Regions from separate parts of the Homo sapiens genome. Here all the other regions are linked to region 6. Evidence: promoter capture Hi-C in 16 types of primary human blood cells and fetal thymus (Javierre and others, 2016). All regions are on one chromosome and are shown on one strand. Each heading gives the region's core, a stretch centred on a gene start or on the middle of the fragment in contact. The rest is flanking DNA. Distances are from core to core; before and after follow the strand shown.

Region 1 (2,960 bases), core at 80-2,579, 180 kb before region 6:
CTCCAGCTCCCAAGCCACTGGAAGACGGGTGCCGGGAGGAAAGGCTAAACTTTGTGGACACACCCTGAGGAAGGCTGCTGCCTGGTCAGTGACATCTACTGTGACTCAGGACTCAGGCCAGGAGGAAAGGAGCACCACCACCACAGGCAGCTTGCCCATCCTTCCGTCACTTCCTTTCCATTCCCCCAGGTCCCCTTAGAGTGACCCTCAGAGTTGGCTCTACACCAGCCCTGGAGGCGTGATGCGAATGAGGCATGACCCTGCTCCCTGGAGTCTGTCTACAGACCACACTACCCAGTGTCTGGGAGGGCACCATGTCAGGGCACTTTGTATACTCCTGCGGCATTTTAAGGAGGGTTTAAAACGTTCATGCCTTTTGACCCAGTGTCTGCACTCTGGTAACTTGTCATAAGGAAATAATCTGGGTTGAGGGAAATAATTACTGCGGAAGCAGTTCACTTTGGCATACTTATAATAGCCCACAGTATACCCTCCCCAGTCCCCAAAAGAATCAAAACAACTTAATGTCTAACAATAGGGAATGAGTCAAATGAATTATCAGACAGTCATAAGATGGATTACCACCTGCAGCCATGAAAGATAAACTTGAGAGAAAAACTAAATAACAGGAAAATGCTGACAATATAATGTTAAATGACAGATACAAGATAAAGCTGTGTGTAGCAGGGCTTCTCATAGGGGGATGAGATGAGATCCTGCTGATCCCTGAACCGGTGTTACTGAGGGGAGCCTGCTCTTGTCCTTACACGGTCTTACGTTAAGGGAGACAGGAGGGTGCAAACCAGTGGTAGACACAGTGGTACATCCCAGTATCAGGGAAATAGGAAAAATGTACGTATATTCACAGATCAGAGGTAATTAATGCCAGCCCACCGTGACTGGTAAGGTGGTGGCCTCAGGGACTAAGACTTCCGAAACTTGAATATAGATCTTGTTAAAAGACAGATTCTGATTCAATGTCTGGGGCAGGCCTGAGCTTTTGCATTTCTAACAAGCTCCCAGGTGATGCCATGCTGCCAGCCGACAGGCCACGCATGGAGCAAGCCTGAAGAGGACATTTGTCCTGGAGGGGGAGAACCCGGCGACACAAACAGCAACTGGTTGGTGAGAATAGAGGTACATGTTTACTTTTTACACTGTCCTGTATCTTCCACAATACAAATCTGTTGCTTTTGTGATAAGAAAGAAAACTTTCCAATGTTGAAAACCTTTGACTCAGTACTTATTTTTACAGGAATCCATCTCAAATAATGTGAAATGGGATCCAAGGTTTATGTGCATTCAAATTGGAATGATGTACAACATCAAAAAATGAGCAACAACTTAGTTCTCTAATATTTTAAAAGAATGGCTAAAAAAGCCTAAAATAGCATGCAGTCATTAAAAACATTTATAAAGACATAGGGGAATACAATGATTTTTTATTTAAAAAAAATTTTTTAATAGCTTTAGGTGTACAAGTGGGTTTTGGTTACATAGATGAACTGTACAGTGGTAAAGTCTAGGATTTTAGAGTACTCATCACCCAGGTAGTGTACATTGTACCTAATAGGTTGTTTTTCATCCCTCATCCCCTTCCCATCCTGCCCTTCTGAGTCTCCATAGTCCATTATATCACTCTGCATGCCTCTGTGTACCCATAGCTTAGCTTCCACTTACTTACAAGTGAGAACATATGGCATTTCGTTTTCGATTCCTGAGTTACTTCACTTAGAATAATGGCCTTCATGGGCATGGTGGCTCACGCCTGTAATCCCAGCACTTTGGGAGGCCAAGGCGGGTGGATCACCTGAGGTCAGGAGTTCGAGACCAGCCTGGCCAACGTGGTGAAACCCTGTCGCTACAAAAATTACCTGGACATGATGGCTGATGCCTGCAATCCCAGCTACTCGGGAGGCTGAGGTGGGAGAATCGCTTGAACCTGGGAGGTGGAGGTTGCAGTGAGCCGACATTGGGCCACTGCATTCCAGCTTGGGTGACTGAGCAAGACTTCATCTCAAAAAAAAAAAAAAAAAAAAGAATAATGTCCTTCAGTTCCATCCAAGTTGCTGCAAAAGACATTATTTTGTTCTTTTTATAGCTGAGCAGTATTCCATGGTGTGTTGTGTATGTGTATATGTGATGTGTATATATGTATGTGTATATGTGATGTGTATATACATATATCACATATTCTTTATCCACTCATTGGTTGATGGACACTTAGGTTGATTCCATATCTTTGCAATTGTGAATTGTGCTATGATAAACATATGCATGCAGGTGTCTTTTTGATATCGTCATAATGATAAATTTTAATCAAAGTATAGCAACTATGTTAAAATTCTAACATAAAATGAATTGTTTATAAAATGTTAAAATTTTTTAAATTTATAAAAAAACAAAGTAAAACAAAATAAAAAGGAAATATACCCAAATGTCAATGCCTTCAGATCCTTGGATTGTGGGTCATAAAAGACTTTTCCCTTTAAACCTTTCAGAATACAGTAAAGTTGAAGGCAGGCAGGATCAGGAGGCAAGGGCAGCAATGGAAAGTAGCTGAGGCCATAGGAAGAAGAGAAAACCTTGCGGTGAACAGGACAGTGCAGGCTTGGGGGGATGCGGTGAGGGTGTGGCAGGTACAGACTACACACTGAAACACCTGGCTGGAGTGCAGGAGAAGGACGAAGGGTTAGGTGAAGGTAGGATGGACTCTGAAGCTTTGGGTCTGCACCTGGGGCAGGAGGGAGAATCCAAAGCCTACTGCCTCTCTTCCTCCCACTGCCCCCTGCTGAAGGGGACCAGGCAAGGGCTGTCGACAGGGGAGACCTCTGCCCTGCTGCTTGGAGGGGAATCACTGGCCCTCCATTCAGCTTCCCTGGACACCATGGATGCTTTCAGCTTCCCAGCAACACCTTAGCTATCAATCTCTAAAGTGCTTCCTCCTCAGAATTACTTAA
Region 2 (2,967 bases), core at 323-2,822, 200 kb before region 6:
GATCATCAATACTAATACTGAAAGGTGGAAATTGAAGAGTACCTTGCTATCTACAAAGTGGGCTTGCCAAAAAATTAGAACCCGACCAAACCTGTAGATTCAACTACTGATGTTCAAGAAAGAGGACAATAACTTATTTAATGACCCCACAGGATGCAGTAAAGAAAATCCACATGGTGGTATGCTCTATAGGATTACAATTTGTTACTTCAATAAATTGTTTCAACAACAATACAAAAATTAAGACTTAGGATATATCAACTAAGTGCAATGTGTAGAATTTATCTGAATTCATGGCAACAAAGAATTACATATATAAGACAATGGGAAATTATGGTATGATGGGCTGAATTATATCCCCCCAAATTCATATGTTGAAGCCTTTAACTCCCAGCACCTCCAAATGTGACTATATTTGGAGATAGGACCTTTAAAGAGGTAATTTGGACACACACACATGATACTAGGGATGCTGGTACACAGAGAAAAGGCTGTGGGAGGGCACAGCGAGAAGACAGCCATCTACAGGCTGCAAAAGGCCCCAGGAGAAACCGCCCCTGGGACACCTCGATCTCACCCTTTCAGCCCCCAGAGCTGTTGTTTCAGCCACCCAGCCTGTGGTGGTTTGTTATGGCAGCCCTAACAAATTAATATGTGTGGTTATATTTAAATCTCACTATTTAAAATAATACATACTAAAATATTTACAGATGAAATAGGTTGTCTGGAATTTGCGCCAACATAATGCAGTGTGTGTGCTGGGGGTCGAGTGGATGAAAGTATAGATGGGGCAGGATCGACCACTGGTTAATGGCTGTTCTAACTATTTGTATGTATGTTTGAAAATTTTCATAACTTTAAAAAAAATGTACAAATCTCCAAGGACAAAATTTCAGAGGCTGGAAAATGAACAGATGGACGGTAAATGAGTGAGCCCCATCTACACAAAGTGTGGTCCAAGCATCACCTAGGAGACTGCTATTCACATAGACCCTCAGGCTCCAGCTCAGATCTATGAAACCAATCTGCAGTTTTAATAAATCCTCAGGTGAATCACATACAGTGAATACAGACTGAAGCTAGCAGTGGAGAAAGCAGAGTCGCAACCCAATTTATACCTCAGGACCCTCAAAAATCTCAAGAGTGGCTGACCCAAGTGTCTTCAGAAAGGGATGCAAAGATGGGGATAAAAACAGATAGATTCGTTGCAAATGAAATAAGCAGTTAGGTCCCCAGATCTCTTCCCTGACTCAGTGCAGCAAATGACTCCCTCTCCAACTGCGGAGTAAGAATGAGGTTTTCCCCTCTGGGGAAGATAAAACAATCTTTGGACGGTAGGCAGAGTTGAGGATTAGAGGAGCATCATACTGATAACAGGGAGACTGCATAAAAATACATATAGCGGAAGTTGAGACCTCTCCAGCCTTTTTACAGTTGGATTTCAGGAATACTATTATTACAAGATATAAAGACTCAAACAGTTCTCTCTAGGCATCAGCCCAGGAAGAAATATCTAAAGATACTACATTGAATCTTCCCTGAAGAAACAGCCTAGATACTGCCCTACTTATAAATATGACTGGACATCCAAAGATCCTCAGACATTCAAAGAAAATCTCTAGTATTGAAAGTTAAACAAATCCACAAGCAGAAAAAAGACAACTTGGAGGAAATAGACACAATGCTAGATAGAAGAAAGCTATTTAAAAACTCATTGTTTTCAGGGAGAAAATATTGCATCCATACAAGAAGAGGAGGCTATTTATAATAACAACAGAAAACAAAAAAGACCTCTTGGAAAATAAAATATGATGGCAGAAGTAGTAAGGTAAACAGAGAGTTGGAAAATAATGTTTGGGAAATTTCCTAGAAAAAGTGAAATAAAAAGAGAAATAGTTAAGAAACATGGAGGACCAATCCAACAGGTGCAAACTCTGAATAACAGGAGTCACAGAAAGAGAGCAAACTGGAGGGGAAGAACTCAAGAAAAGGCAATAATGAGCCAAGTGCAGTGGCTCACACCTGTAATCCCAGCACTCTGGGAGGCCAAAGTGGGTGGATCACTTGAGGTCAGGAGTTTGAGACCAGCCTGGCCAACATGGAAAAACCCAATCTCTACTAAAAATACAAAAAAGAAAAATAATTAGTGGGGCATGGTGGTGCACGCCTGTAATACCAGCTACTCAGGAGGCTGAGGCAGGAGAATAGCTTGAACCTGGGAGGCAGAGGTTGCAGTGAGCCGAGATCACACCACTGCACTCCAGCTGGGTGACAGAGCAAGACTCCGTTTCAAAAAATAAATAAATAAAAATAAAGAGTGTTTCAACTTATAAATGAAACGTAAAATTTAGACTTAGAATTCCACCATCTTGCAACAACTTCTCCCCAACCCACCACCCACGTAGACATTTTAGCACCTGTACCTACCATCATCTCAACAGGAGAGACAACCAGACATTTTGTGCCTCCTATATGGCAAACCTGAGTTTCATTAAATCTCTGAATCCAGCTGCCAGTTTGCAAGAAATAGAGGATTGAGGGATATACTGAGCTGAATCATGAGCATGCAATTAGCAAGACTCACACTGTGGAAAACCCTATTGGTCAAGGAGTCCAGTTCTTCAAGAGAAAAACAAAGGGGAAAAATGGAGAAGTAATTTAGAGAGTAAAAAAACACATCCCAGATAACTTTTTTTTTTAAAGGTAAGACTAAATTGGAGTCTCTAAAGATATGCATTTGGGTGGTAAAACTTCTAAATGCAAAGAAGTGCTGATGACTGTAAAAGTGAAGTTATTTTGGGGGAAGCGAGGGACTGTGATTGCAGAGGTCACATGGAAGGGGCCTATTGGAGCAAAGTTCCTGCTCTTTACCTGAGAGGTGGTGACATGGGAATGGGGGTCAGGCTTTTTGGAAACACTGGAAGCCAGAGATGCCTTCAATTCTAAGGGACTGATCAAACTAGAAGA
Region 3 (2,859 bases), core at 211-2,710, 160 kb before region 6:
TTTTCTCAGCCTCCTGTTTCCTTCCTGCTTTGAGGTTGCTGTGAGGTTGCCTTGAGGCTGGAGGTGGAGCAGTAGTCTTAGACTCTGGGACAGCCCACAATAAAGGTGGAGCCGCACCCACCTAGCTGTGCCTAGCTCCAGATGTCTTACTACACGAGAAAAGCAACCCCCTTACTTGTTTAAGGTCAGGGTTTGTTCCATGGAATTGAATATAATCCCACTAGATATACTATTGTTCCCAAAGAAAAGCCTTGTCACCTAAAAATAAAATCCTAAGCCCCCCACCGACTGAAAAGAACCTCTCTTGGCCAAGGGGACCCCAGAAAAGCCTTAAACTGAGTTCCTGGCCATGACAAGATGGGAGGTCAACCACATCTCATTATACCCCTCCCTTTTATGGTTTAGACACAACTGACCAGCATTAATGTTAAAATAGAGATCATAAGGCTGACAGAATAGACTCTTTGTGGCAATAAGATACCACATTATAAACAGGACATAGGCCTGTGTTCTAACTATATTATGTGAAAGGAAAATATCTTGAGGCCCCCAAATCACTAAGCTAAAAGGAAAAGTCAAGCTGGGAACTGCTTAGGGCAAACCTGCCTCCCATTCTATTCAAAGTCACCCATTAGTCACTGGCTAGTATAAATGAAAGAGCCTAATCAGAGGCTAATCAGAAACTCAAAAGAATGCAATCATTTGTTTCTTCTCTACCTATGACCAGGAAGCCTCCTCTTTCTCAGGTATCTGTGTGAAGAGACCACCAAACAGGCTTTGTGTGAGCGACAAGGCTGTTTATTTACCTGGGTGCAGGTGGGCTGAGTCCGAAAAAGGAGTCAGCAAAGGATGGTGGATTATCATTAGTTCTTACAGGTTTTGGGATAGTCGGTGGAGTTAGGAGCAATGTTTTGCGGGCAGGGGTGGATCTCACAAAGTACATTCTCAAGGGTGGGGAGAATTACAAAGAACCTTCTTAAGGGTGGGGGAGATTACAAAGTACATTGATCAGTCAGGTTGGGGCAGCAATAAATCACAATGGTGGAATGTCATCAGTTAAGGCTATTTTCACTTCTTTCGTGGATCTTCAGTTGCTTAAGGCCGTCTGGATGTATACGTGCAGGTCACTGGGGATATGACGGCTTAGCTTGGGCTCAGAGGCCTGACATCCTCCCTGCTTCAAGTTGTCCTGCCGTTCCAGACCGAGCCAATGTTCATCTTACATGTGTTGACTGATGTCGTCTCATGTCTCCCTAAAATGTATAAAACCAAACTGTGCTCTGACCCCCTAGGGCACATGTGGTGAGGACCTCCTGAGTCTGGGTCGTGGGCAGGCATGCATCCTCAGTCTTGGCAAAATGAACTTTCTAAATTAACTGAGACCTGTCTCGGATTTTTGGGGTTCACAATTATAAGGGTTTTCTTTTTCTGTAGCAGCTAAACAAGCACTGACCTTGAGATAAGCAATATTAAAACTATTTGCGGCTCCGTCAGATGCTAATTGATCCTCAGCCCCTGTCCCATCAGCCGTAAAACCACAGCTTTGATTGGACAAGAGACTGATTTCAGTAACTTTCTCTTAATAAGACCACTGACCATGGACTGGTTCTAGTTGGTTTACAGAGGTCGTGCTCTTTTTTGTATCCTGAAAAGATACTTTGATGTGTGTGTCCGAATTGTAATACATTTCAATGTTAAGTATCCACTCCAAAATGAATGTATGTTACATGCATGTTTGTTCAGTACGTGTGCATCAGGACTACCATGAATATTCATTGTTGGGAACAGGCCCTCCAAAATCTGGTCATAAACTGGCCCCAAAACTGGCCATAAACAAAATCTCTGCAGCACTGTAACATGTTCATGATGGCCATGATGCCCACACTGGAAGGTTGTGGGTTTACCAGAATGAGGGCAAGGAACACCTGGCCCACCCAGGGCGGAAAACGGCTTAAAGGCGTTCTTAAACCACAAACAATAGCATGAGCCATCTGTGCCTTAAGAACATGCTCTTGCTGCAGACAACTAGCCAAACCCATCCCTTTATTTCGGCCCATCCCTTTATTTCCCATAAGGAATACTTTTAGTTAATCTACAGTCTGTAGAAACAATGCTTATCACTGGCTTGCTGTCAATAAATATGTGGGTAAATCTCTGTTCGAAGCTCTCAGCAGCTCTGAAGGCTGTGAGACCCCTGATTTCCCACTCCACACCTCTATATTTCTGTGTGTGTGTCTTTAATTACTCTAGCACTGCTGGGTTAGGGTCTCCCTGACCGAGCCGGTCTTGGCAATTCATAGCTCCTCCTGTAACCTGTTGAATATGTATGTTTAACCAACCCTTTGAGGAGCTTTATTTTAATCTCTCCTCCTTCAAAGTGCCTGTCTCTGATCTTGGCCAGAGGCATGCTTCCCAGCCTGCACAGTGGTCGCCTTGAAGGCTGTAATCCTTAAAAAAAAAAAAAAAGTCTCCTTCACCGTTTCTAATTTTTTTTTTTTTTGAGATGGAGTCTTGCTCTGTTGCCCAGGCTGGAGTGCAGTGGCGCGATCTCAGCTCACTGCAAGCTCCGCCTCCCGGGTTCACACTGTTCTCCTGCCTCATCCTCCCAAGTAGCTGGGACTACAGGCGCCCGCCACCATGCCTGGCTAATTTTATTTTTTGTATTTTATTTAGTAGAGACGGGGTTTCACTGTGTTAGCCAGGATGGTCTCGATCTCCTGACCTCATGATCCGCCCACCTCAGCCTCCCAAAGTGCTGAGATTACAGGCGTGAGCCACTGTGCCTGGCCAATCTTTTCTAAATTTATAAATCGTGTGATTTTTTTCAGTTAACAACCTTAAAAGTCAATCTAGCCAACC
Region 4 (2,857 bases), core at 351-2,850, 240 kb before region 6:
AATGGGAAAGCTAATCAGACTCTCAATGGTCACATAACTAAAATAGCAAGATTAGTGCTAATTTCTTCAATGTCAGTTTGACTTTTGAAGGAGTGTGAGTGGGAAAAGTTCCATCATATGTGAGAGAAGGCAATTCAGAATTTTAGTATCAAAACAATCAATTTTCTTTCTTTTTTAAAGCAGACTTAAGTAACAAATGAGTATTTTAGTGAGTTAGCTTAAAATTTTAGAGCTTCTGGGTTGTTTCGTTTCAGACTTTCTGCATGCTGATGTTTGACATCAGGTGGATATTATAATTGTATTAAGTATATACTCTTCATTCAAGAGGTGGTTACATTTGTTCAACGAGAAAACTCCTTTTTTATAGACTTTATTCTAATAAAGAATGAAATAAGGCCAGGCACGATGGCTCATGCCTGTAATCCCAACACTTCGGGAGGCCGAGGCAGGCAGATCACTTGAGGTTAGGAGTTTGAGACCAGCCTGACCAACATGGTGAAACCCCGTCTCTACTAAAAATACAAAAATTAGCCAGGTGTGGTGGCATGCACCTGTAATACCAGCTACTTGGGAGGCTGAGGCAGGAGTATTGCTTGAACCCCAGAGGCGGAGGTTGCAGTGAGCTGAGATTGCGCCACTGTGCTCCAGCCTGGGTGACAGAGCAAGACTCCATCTCAAAAAAAAAAAAAAAAATAGGCCAGGCGCGGTGGCTTATGTCTGTAATCCCAGCACTTTGGGAGGCTGAGGTGGGTGGATCACAAGGTCAAGAGATCAAGACCATCCTGGCCAACATGGTGAAACCCCATCTCTACTAAAAAAAAATATATATATATATATAAATTAGCTGGGCCTGGTGGTGTGTGCCTGTAATCCCAGCTACTTTGGAGGCTGAGGCAGGAGAATCGCTTGAACCAGGGAGTCGGAAGTTGCAGTGAGCCGAAATTGTGCCACTGCACTCCAGCCTGGCGACAGAGCTAGATTCCGTCTCAAAAAAAAAATGAAATAAAGTAAATAGAAGTCCAAGTGGTATCCAAAATGACTGAAGGAAAGCAAACAAAAATGAAAATGAAAACGGTATTTTATACCTTGAATTTGCTATTTAAAAGCAGCAAAGTTTTTACTGTTTTTTGGGCTGAGATTCTGAATTGCCGTGTTCTATAGGAGCATCTTTTTGATCATGGCCCTTCAGGTGATAGAGTTCAGTTTAATGCAGTAGCATTTAGAATAGTCAAGGCCCTGTAGTAGTGAATTAACACTTGTGTCTAAGTAATTATCCTCAATGTATTAGTATATTTCATTAAAATTAATTTATTCACTTTACAAATATTTATTGAGCCTATACTGTGTGCCTTTACTTCGCTAAATTAAGCGAAATAGCATGCTGGTAAGCAAACTAGATACTGTCTTTGCCCACAGATTTTCTAACTTAAAAGGATGACATCTCTGACATTGTTAGCTCTTTATAAACTGTTGCAACATGTGAATCACCGTTTTACTTCTTATTTGAACAGCAAGGAGTATATTAGTTTAAAATTTGATTTTTACTACTTATTCTGAGTTCAGTTTGATTGGTTTTAATTTGAAAGAATGTTAACCTTGAAAAATTTCAAACATTCATTAGAATCGTATAATAAATCCCCAGTCACCCAGACTCAACATTATCACCCAATTTCAACATTATTTTGCCACAGTAGCTTCATTCATTTTGTTTCCTTCCTCCATTCCTAACCCCCACCCTTCTTTTTTCTTCTCTCTTCTCCTCTCTTCTCTTCTCTTTCCTTTCTTTCTCCTTCCTTCTTTCCTTCCTTCCTTCCTTCCTTCCTCTTTCTTTCTCTCTCTTTCTTTCTTTTTCCTTCCTTCCCTTTCCTTTCCGTTCTTTTGTTCTTTCGTTCGTTCGTTCCTTCCTTCCTTCCTTCCTTCCTTCCTTCCTTCCTTCCTTCCTTCCTTCCTTCCTTCTTCTTGTTTTAAAGAAAATCGTAGTCACCGGTACATACGTCAGTGTGCCTCTCTCAAAATAATACACATTTCCTTATAATGCCATATCACACATAGCAAAATAATAATTCTTTGGTGTTATATAATACCTGGCCAATATTCATATTTCCCTAACTTTTTAAAGTCATTTTATAGTTATTTAGTTAAATCAGGTTCCAAATAAGGTCTGTATTGTGCCTTTTGTTTTTGTGAATTTCATTTCCTTTAATTCTCAAATACTGTCTTTTAATTGCACATACTATTTTATCTGAGAGCATTCTCATGTGAAGTGAAAAGTAACAAAGAATGTGCAGGTATTCTTTTTTTCTTGGCCTATATCTACAATATGTATATAAATGAAAGTTCTAGGCTAAAAAGTATTTATAATGTGTCTCCCTGTGTACACAATAGGAAGAACATGGAAATCTGCTTAGGAAACTTTACAACATATAGTGTGATCCTCAGTTTATAATATAATGGACATATAGTATATGTTAGACTATTCTAGAACATGACAGGTTATGTATGTATATATTATTTACATACATAAAGAAGTAAAATACAATCCGCTTTCCCTCCAGCAGCTTTTAATGTAGTTTGGAACTAGGAATCTAGGGAATCTCCATACAGAAAGGTAACGAAGGAGCTACAGATGGTATAGTCACACTGAATTATATAGACAGAATTTAGAACTTTAAAACTGGCTAAGATTATTCCTAGTTTGGTGGGTTTCCTATAAAAATGAGATTTGAAGTGGGTCGTGGATTTAATGCATAGATTTAGGATAAACAGCGAGAACATTTCAGATTAGAACACTAAGTAAACGCACTAAGAATGTGTAAGTGCTAGGTAACTTCGAGAGAGGGCAGTGAAGAGTAGAGGG
Region 5 (2,945 bases), core at 316-2,815, 140 kb before region 6:
CTGGAAAAGCTGGAGAATCAGGCTCAAACGGTGGGAAAGAACAGAGGAAACCACACTGTGAGAACCAAAGCCAAAGTCAGGACACAGGAGGTGTTGCCAGAACACTGGTGCTTCCTTCAGCAGTGCAGGCTTGAAATGGTTACCTTCTCACACAGCGGATGAAGCCAGCATTAGGCAGGATTTTTAATCCGGGGCTACCTAAATCCAAAGCCACACACTCTTTTCTGAGTTTTCAATTTCTTTATAAGTAAAATGAACACAGAAGGCAACTATGAATAATGATGCCACAAGGGATTTAGACAGCGTCCCTAAGTGCCAGATGCAATTTAAGAGGTATTATTATTACATACAGCCAGAATCTACAATCATATCTCTGTCTCAAACAACTAATAGCCGAGGTTGCCAGGCAATTATATTTGTCAGGCACGAGTCTACAGTGAGCAGGTAAATGATCTACACCCCAGACACAATAAAAGATTTAGTCCCTCCTCCCTTTTGTACTAATCTCCAGCTCAGATTTTCTGATCCTATTCTGTTTGCCTCCATTTCGAAAGCCCTTCCCTCATCCTGTATTTTTACCACCTGGTTCTATGTGTCACCAAATCTTCCTTATTTGCAGTCAGCTTTGTGAAAGAACTTTCAATGCTAGTTACTCTAGAACAACAACTCTCACACGTTTTGGGCTCAGGACCTTTTAACTACTTTTAAAAATTATTGAGAATGCCAAAGAGTCCTGTTGGTGTGGATTATTTGCTGCGGTTAGAAATTAAAACAGGCAGCTAAGCGTGGTGGCTCATGCCGGTAATCCTGGCACTTCGGGGGGCTGAGGTGGGCGGATCACGAGGTCAGGATTTCGAGACCAGCCTGACCAACATGATGAAACCCCATCTCTACTAAAAATACAAAAATTAACCTAGTGTGGTGGTACGTGGTGCCTATAATCCCAGCTACTCGGGAGGCTGAGGCAGGAGAATAGCTTGAGCCTGGGAGGCGGAGGTTTCAGTGAGCCGAGATCACGCCACTGCACTCCTGCCTGGGTGACAGAGAAAGACTCCGTCTCAAAAAAAAAAAAAAAAAAAAAAAAAGAAAAGAAATTAAAACAGGCAGTGGCTCACCCTGTAATCCCAGAGCTCTGGGAAGCTGAGGTGGGAGGATTGTTTGAGGCCAGGAGTTTGAGCCCAGCCTAGGCCACATAGCGAGACCCTGTTTCTACGAAAAATTTAATTAGCTGAGTGTGGTGGCACATGCCTGTAGTCCACGCTACTCAGGAAGCTGAGACAGGAGAATCCCTCGAGCCCAGGAGTTCGAGTTAGAGTGAACTATGATCATGCACTGTACTCCAGCCTGAGCAACAGAGTGAGACCTAGTCTCAAAATAAAAGAAAGATTAAAACATAAATTTTTAGAAACAATAATAAAAGAGGACACATTAACAGAAATAACATGTCTATGAAAAATAACTTTTTCAGAAAGAAAATGTTTGTGAGATGAGTGGCTGTTTTACATTTTTAACAAATCTGTTGAATATCTGGATGAATAGAAGAAAGCTAGATTCTCATGTCTGCCTCCGCATTCAATCTGTTCCCATATCACACTGGAAAACTCCACTTATGCTTGTGAGAGAATGAGAGTGAAAAGGCAACAACATCAGTATTATTACGAAAATATTTTGACCTTAAAGATATTCTGGAAAGAGACAATCAGGAAATCCCCCATCACAAGTTGAAAATTGATGCCATTTTTTTTTTTTTTTTGGAGATGGAGTCGTGCTCTGTTTCCCAAACTTGAGTGCAATGGTGTGATCTCAGCTCACTGCAACCTCTGCCTCCCTGGTTCAAGCAATCCTCCTGCCTCAGCCTCCTGAGTAGCTGGTCTTATAGGTACACGCCACCACGCCTAGCTAATCTTTTTATATTTTTTGTAGAGACAGGGTTTCATCATGTTGGCCAGACTGGTCTTGAACTCCTGACCTCAGGTGATCCGAGGCCACCTTGGCCTCCCAGAGTGCTGGGATTACAGGTGTGAGCCATGGCGCCTGGCCCCAATGCCATTTTTGATGCTCTTTTTCCCTTTGTGTGGATTCATTTTTCCATCTGTTAAGAAACTGTAGCCAGGTGTGCTGGCTCACACCTGTAATACTAGCACTTTGTGAGGCAAAGGTGGGAGGATTGCTTGAACCCAGGAGTTTGAGACCAGCCTGGGCAACATAAGGAGACCTCTTCTCCACACACACACAAAAATTTTAAATTAGCCAGGTGTGAGCAGGAGCGGTGGCTAACTCATTGTAGTCCCAGCACTTTGGGAGGCTGAGGTGGGCTGATCACCTGAGGTCAGGAGTTCAAGACCAGCTTGGCCAACATGGTGAAACACCGTCTCTACTAAAAATATAAAAATTAGCCAGGCGTGGTGGTGTGCACCTGCAATCCCAGCTACTAGGGAGGCTGAGGCAAGAGAATAGCTTGAGCCCCGGAGGTGGAGGTTGCAGTGAGCCTAGGTCGTGCCACTGTCCTCCAGCCTGGGCAACAGAGTGAGACTCTGTCTCAAAAAAATATTAGCCACATGTGATGGTGCACACCTGTGGTCCCAGCTACTCAGGAGGCTGAGTGGGAGAATTGCTTGAGCCTGGGAGGTTTCAGCTACAGTGAGCCATGATCGCACCACTGCACTTTAGCTTGGGTAACAGAGTGAGACCCTGTCTCAAAACAAAACAAAAAGCCATCAAACTGTCTTCCAAAGTGGCTATACTATTTTGTGTCTCCACTAGCAATAAATAAGAGTTCCTGCCGTTTCCCATCCTTTCCAGGATTTGGTGTTGTCAGTGCTTTGGATTTTGGCCATTCTAGGCAAGATGGGGAATGTTCAGGGTGGCATGGCCGTAGGTTATTTTGGCCATTCTAATAGGTATGTAGTGGTATCTCACTGTTTTAATTTGCAGTTCCTTAATGA
Region 6 (2,718 bases), core at 203-2,702:
CCCCTTTCCTTCTTCTTTTCCACCTAACCCCCTGAGACTCTAGTCAGCTGTGCTGCTGTGCATGGAGTAATTGTTTAGTTCCACTGCTGTCTGTTGCTGGGTAAACCAGGGCTGGGCCCTGCTCTAATATGAAAGGAAGATTTTAAAAGAAAAATGGAATGTCCAATTGTGACTTCCAAAGCAGTGCTCCAAGTGCATGGAACATTCCAGCCCTCACGAGTGGAGGTGGGCTCTGCAAGGTCCATTTTTAGGATTCCCTGTGTAAAATGTTTCTTGGACCATTCTGGAACATAATGTTACAGAAAGAGCTATTTTATTAGAGAGGAGACTATGAAAACTGTAATTTCAAGAATACTTCTGCTGGGCATGATGGTTCACACCTTTAAGCCCAGCACTTTGGGAGGTCGAGGTGGGCGGATCACTTGAGGCCAGAAATTCAAGACGAGCCTGGCCAACATGGTGAAAATCCATCTCTATGTCAAAACAAAACAAAACACTTCTGTGTATCCCTTTAGTTTAAGTCCTTAGCCCTCCCATAAAATATAAGCAAATTTCAGGAGAGATAATAGATTGACCTTTACGAATCCTTTTTAGCTTCAATTCATACCAGACCTCACCCCTAACCTCCACACCCCCTGACCCACATCCCCACCTCCAATGCTAGGCTCTTCCAGCCGTTCCTGCCTGGGAGCTCTTGAGCTTACCCTTTCTTCTGCCTGGGATACTCTTCCCTCTCTTAAAAAGCTAACTCGCAGTCCTTCAAAACCCAGGCAATGTCACTCACTGTTCCAAGTCTGTTCTCCAAGGCATGCTTAGTTTACTGTGGGTTCCCTGACCACCTCCCATCTCTTGGCTCTTGTCCCACTCAATCAATGGCATACAGGTCCATCTTCCCACCAGGTTAAGATCCCATCAAAGACAAGAACTGTCTCTTGTTCGTCATTGAATCTTTTGCATTTAGAACATTAACTGGCCCACAGTAGATTCTTTAAAACTATTTATGGAATGAATGAATTCTTTACTGCCAACATGTTTCAGTGGGGTGGTGGTGCAGGGTTGGGGGTAGAGAAAATATGAATATGCAAAGAGAAAAAGGAGCTTATGTGCAAAGGAAGGAGGTGGGGGTCACCAGAAGGCAGAGGTCGCTGAAGGCAAACTCCTCTGGGGACAGCTTTGCAAATGGCCAGTCCCTTTTAAAGGCATATTAAGTCTTCAGGTAACTAATTGACAGCTGTAATTTAAGATGTGTTGACACACTTGATGTGCTTGCCAAAGTCATGCTTAATGACTTGTATCTCACACAATGAAATAGGGCAAAGTTAAAAACTCAAATTGCTTTGAGTTTGTATTGGCTTCTGGATCCTGGGTTACATCATTCTTATTTTCATGTTAAACATTAACAGCAATAAAAAAACAGAAAAAGAAAGGTGGTGCGGCAGGGAGTGGGGGGCAGTCATGTAGGGGAGGATATTTTGATTGAACACAGGCTTGACAGAATCTTCTTTTCTTCTTAGAAATCCTAGAAAACAGAAAGCAACAGGAAGATGTCTTATTGGGAACTACCCCCATCAACTTCACCATGAGTCAAACAAGGAAGAAAACTTCCTCAGAAGGAGAAACTAAGCCCCAGACTTCAACTGTCAACAAATTTCTCAGGGGCTCCAATGCTGAAAGCAGAAAAGAGGACAATGACCTTAAAACAAGTGATTCCCAACCCAGCGACTGGATACAGAAGACAGCCACCTCAGAGACTGGTAAGCTGCTGGCTGCTGGTGTTTTTGCTGTTGTATTTGTTTTGTTTTTACTTCCACATTTAAAATATTTTTATTTTTAATTTTTGTGGGTACATAGTAGGTGTATATATTTATGGGGTATATGAGATGTTTCAATACAGGCATGCAATGCCTAATAATCATATTGTGGAGAATGGGGTATCCATCCCCTCAAGCATTTATCCTTTGTGTTACAAACAATCCCATTATACCTTTAGTTTTATTTATTTATTTATTTATTTTGAGACAGAGTTTCACTCTTGTCACCCAGGCTGGAGTGCAATGGCGTGATCTCAGCTCATAGTAACCTCTGCCTCCCGGGTTCAAGCGATTCTCCTGCCTCAGCCTCCCGAGTAGCTGGGATTACAGATGCGCACCACCATGCCCAGCTAATTTTTGTGTTTTTAGTAGAGATGGGGTTTCACTGCATTGGCCAGGGTGGTCTCGAATTCCTGACCTCAGGTGATTTTCCTGCCTTGGCCTCCCAAACTGCTGGGATTACAGGTGTAAGCCATCACACCAGGCCTCTTTTAGTTATTTTTAAATGTGCAATAAATTATTGCACATTTAAAAATAACTAAAAGAGCACAACGGGTTGTTTGTAAACAAAGGATAAATATAGTCACCCTGTTGTGCTATCAAACAGTAGATCTTATATATTCTATTTTTTCTGTACCCATTAACCATCCACACCTCCCCCACCAACAACACACACACCCTTCCCAGCCTCTATGTTTCTTTATTTTTTAGAGTTTTCTTCTAAAGTGATCTTATGGGTTAAACTAAAGACTTTAAGACTTTTGAGACTAAAGACTCAACTATGAGTCTCTGTGCTAATCATTTATTATGTTACTTACATGCTTTAAATGATTCATAATTTTACTTTTAAATTGTTAAAAGCAATATAACACTACAGAAAAATGTAGGGAAAATACTGAATTTCCTT
Region 7 (3,026 bases), core at 416-2,915, 220 kb before region 6:
GAATTTTCAAAGTTTTACATATTAGTTTTTAGAACCTAATCCGTTTTAAAATTGTACTATGAGAAAGCTTTTTTTTGAAAGTTGTAAAGCATTAATACAAATAATACAAATATAATTATTACCATCACATTCCAGAGAATATGGCTTTTTCTAAACTTTCAATTTAGAAAACATACATTAAGGGAGAATCTCTGCCCTCCTTTTCAGCTCTGAAGATCAGCTTTTCTACTCAGACACATGCACACACCCCTTCCAAGTGTCATGTTTATGGGAACATTTGGGAAATGTTTTCCAGATGTTTTATTTTTTCCCTTTTATAGTTTGTTGACATTTAATTTTACTTAAAGATGACAATTTTAATCGGAAATGTTAGAGGTACAACATAGTGAGGTTCTAGCTAGCTTTATACTTTTGAAAAATATTTTTGTTTCTACTGCTTTTTACAAGTACTAGTCCTCTCAGTGATACTGGTGGTGTTCAGTATGAATCCATAGAAAGAAAACAAAATTTGTTGTTTAAAAAAAGCAGAGTAATGAATGAATTTCAGTTTTGAAAACAACATAATTTGAAAACACTGTTATACTAACATGGCAAGGTGTTAATTAAATATAAGAGTAAGGTAGTAAGTTCTTTTAGAGCACCTGTTTAAATTTACTCCAGTAATCATCTTAAGGATTGATAGTCACCATCACTTATTGGCTTAAAAGTTATATTTCATGGAATATTATCAGTGTTAAATCCAAGCTTTGTGGAGCTTTAAGTGATGGTGGTGAAAAAGTTGGTGTTTATGAGAGAGTGGTGGGGTGTCTAGTCATTAGTGAAGTTAAACATCAACCTGTTTTAGAAAGAATTTTTTAGTCTTGCCTAAAGTAAACCAGAAGTGTCTAGTGTTTAAATCTTTATTTAGAATGCTTCTCTTAAAAGTATTTTTTGTTTTGGGTAGTATTAAATAATCAGTAAATAATCTATTTCAGTAGTAAATAATGAATTAAGATGATGATGAATGAGGATTAACACACTGGTCTGGAGACTGGGGTTTTATTTCAGTGGGTTAGCTGTGTGTGACATGTTGGGCAATTACTCAGCTGTTTTAACAGCTTCCAGATATGCAGTATGGTGCCTGTACTACTCAAAAGTTGATTTTGGTTTAATTCATCTTTAAGGTACCTCCCAGCTCTAAAACTATGATTCTAGGCTGTGTAATGGGGTTATTCCTACTTTATTCTCTTTCCTTTTTTAAGGGTTCATTTTATACTTAATAAGCATCCATTTCTTGGGTCACCTACAGTCTTTGTTCTCCTAAGGATTAAAATAGAAAATTCATACATAACAAGCAAATGATGACATTTTCCTAAATGCTCCTTATTGGTTAACCACTGAATATATGAACACATATGAATATTGTCATTCATGTACTTAAATTCATTTAGCAAACTATTTGAACACTTACATGTGCAGTGTTTGGTGAACATGACATGAGGAACTAGTAGTAAGTAAAATCTTCCCCCCAAAATTCATTGTGGCTTAAATAAATATGAACATAATCATTACTACTTAATATACTGAGAGGGAATCTTAATAAACTTGGAACTGGGAGGGAATATTTGTATACATTGGGTAAAGGGTTAGGCTAGATGACATCTAAGGGGTCTGAGTGAATCATATCATAATTTTTATAACACATTTCACATACTAAACATCAGTTGGCCCCATACCTGATTAAGTTACAAAATTTAGGAGACTTAACATTAAGGACTTACAGGTTGAGACAGCCCGTATTTCACAACATTATTTTGACACTTGACTCTATTCCAGAGTTGTTGCTATACAAGGCATGTGGCAGAACAAAAAAAAAGCTGGTGTTGATATAAGAGCTTTTTACCCAGTATTGACAGTGAGCAACTTTCTTTCTTTTTTTTTTTTTTTCTTTTTTTTTTTTTTGAGATGGGTTCGCTCTGTTGCCCAGGCTGGTGTGCAGTGGTGCGATCTCAGCTCACTGCAACCTCCACCTCCCGGGTTGAAGCGATTGTCTTGCCTCAGCCTTCCAAGTAGCTGGAATTACAGGTGCCCGCCGCCACACCTGGCTAATTTTTGTATTTTTAGTAGAGACGGGGCTTCACCATGTTGGCCAGGCTAGTCTCGAACTCTTGACCTCAAGTGATCCACCTGCCTTGGCCTCCCTAAGTGCTGGGATTACAGGCATGAGCCACCACACCTGTCCGACAGTGTAGCAACTTTCTAAAACTGAAAAATCTCAAAGGAGATCATTGGAACTGACTTGTTCATTTATTTTTTGTTTTTAAATTAAGAAAGATTACACAAAATAAGTGTTACTGTACTTTAAGCTATTACAAATATCCAACTTTTAAAGATATGTAAGAATCAGTAATATTCTAGAAAGCACATATATAGTAAAAGGGCATCCTTTAAATGTAGAACGGGTAAACATGAAACAGTTCCATGCTTGAATTGTTAAGTATCTAGGGGGTAAACATTGAATGGGAGAATCATTTATTGGGTTAAGGTCCCTTCCTTGTCATTCTGGGATCTGTGAATCACATTGTAATTCCTGTTGACAAAGCTTTACTTGTTAACATCAGTTGATACTGACATTCTCCATAAAGATATAGAATGAAAATATCTATTAAAAATAGTTTATCATTGTTTTAGCTTTTTTGTTTTGTTTGTTTTGAGACAGAGTCTCACTGTCACCCAGGCTTGAGTGCAGCGGTGTGATCTTGGCTCAATGCAACCTCCACCTCCCAGGTTCAATAGATTCTCCCACCTTGGCCTCCCAAGTAGCTGGGATTACTGGCATGCACCACTATGCCTGGCCAGTTTTTTGTATTTTTAGTAGAGATGGGGTTTCACCATGTTGGCCAGGCTGGACTCGAACTCCTGACCTCAAGTGATCCGCCCACCTCAGCCTCCCAAAGTGCCGGGATTATAGGCATGAGCCACTGCGCCTAGCCTGTTGCAGCTTTTTAAAGCAGGAAAATATCCATATAAACTGTTGGGTTAGAATC

What was found. The method cuts DNA at HindIII sites, captures the fragments that hold promoters and counts their contacts. A CHiCAGO score of 5 or more calls a contact.
Region 1: a contact is called between a fragment that was not itself captured here and the fragment with the promoter of LRRC31 in region 6, in 8 of 17 cell types (monocytes, M2 macrophages, M0 macrophages and 5 more). The highest score is 9.3, in monocytes.
Region 2: a fragment that was not itself captured here is called in contact with the fragment with the promoter of LRRC31 in region 6 in 6 of 17 cell types (total B cells, monocytes, M2 macrophages and 3 more); the score reaches 8.5 in total B cells.
Region 3: a fragment that was not itself captured here is called in contact with the fragment with the promoter of LRRC31 in region 6 in 12 of 17 cell types (total B cells, naive CD4 T cells, monocytes and 9 more); the score reaches 13.5 in total B cells.
Region 4: a fragment that was not itself captured here is called in contact with the fragment with the promoter of LRRC31 in region 6 in 9 of 17 cell types (total B cells, naive B cells, M2 macrophages and 6 more); the score reaches 8.4 in total B cells.
Region 5: a fragment that was not itself captured here is called in contact with the fragment with the promoter of LRRC31 in region 6 in 1 of 17 cell types (total B cells); the score reaches 5.6 in total B cells.
Region 7: a fragment that was not itself captured here is called in contact with the fragment with the promoter of LRRC31 in region 6 in 12 of 17 cell types (naive B cells, total B cells, M2 macrophages and 9 more); the score reaches 14.7 in naive B cells.

What each region holds. Positions count from the first base shown.
Region 1 is chr3:170,046,915-170,049,874 of GRCh38, reverse strand. All of the region lies in intron 2 of GPR160 (G protein-coupled receptor 160), which reads right to left. It overlaps LOC124909455 (a long non-coding RNA gene), which reads left to right. Exons shown (of 3, transcript XR_007096156.1): 3 at 1,017-2,438. Among named protein-coding and RNA genes, the nearest start is that of GPR160, 10 kb to the right of the region's middle. The HindIII fragment of the contact is 2,787 bases long and covers 1-2,722 here.
Region 2 is chr3:170,067,488-170,070,454 of GRCh38, reverse strand. All of the region lies in intron 2 of GPR160 (G protein-coupled receptor 160), which reads right to left. Among named protein-coding and RNA genes, the nearest start is that of GPR160, 31 kb to the right of the region's middle. RefSeq lists a silencer at 1,187-1,387. The HindIII fragment of the contact is 6,364 bases long and covers 1-2,967 here.
Region 3 is chr3:170,030,806-170,033,664 of GRCh38, reverse strand. No RefSeq gene overlaps it. Among named protein-coding and RNA genes, the nearest start is that of GPR160, 5.8 kb to the left of the region's middle. The HindIII fragment of the contact is 4,915 bases long and covers 1-2,859 here.
Region 4 is chr3:170,110,361-170,113,217 of GRCh38, reverse strand. The region is part of intron 11 of PHC3 (polyhomeotic homolog 3); the gene reads left to right. The region is part of intron 2 of LOC105374209 (a long non-coding RNA gene); the gene reads right to left. Among named protein-coding and RNA genes, the nearest start is that of PHC3, 70 kb to the left of the region's middle. The HindIII fragment of the contact is 5,579 bases long and covers 1-2,857 here.
Region 5 is chr3:170,010,395-170,013,339 of GRCh38, reverse strand. No RefSeq gene overlaps it. Among named protein-coding and RNA genes, the nearest start is that of GPR160, 26 kb to the left of the region's middle. The HindIII fragment of the contact is 5,150 bases long and covers 1-2,945 here.
Region 6 is chr3:169,868,669-169,871,386 of GRCh38, reverse strand. It overlaps LRRC31 (leucine rich repeat containing 31), which reads left to right and starts at 1,452. Exons shown (of 9, transcript NM_024727.4): 1 at 1,452-1,754. The coding sequence starts at 1,580. The HindIII fragment of the contact is 9,706 bases long and covers 1-2,718 here.
Region 7 is chr3:170,088,830-170,091,855 of GRCh38, reverse strand. PHC3 (polyhomeotic homolog 3) reads left to right here. Exons shown (of 15, transcript NM_024947.4): 15 at 1-3,026. Among named protein-coding and RNA genes, the nearest start is that of GPR160, 52 kb to the right of the region's middle. RefSeq lists a silencer at 968-1,168. The HindIII fragment of the contact is 1,837 bases long and covers 747-2,583 here.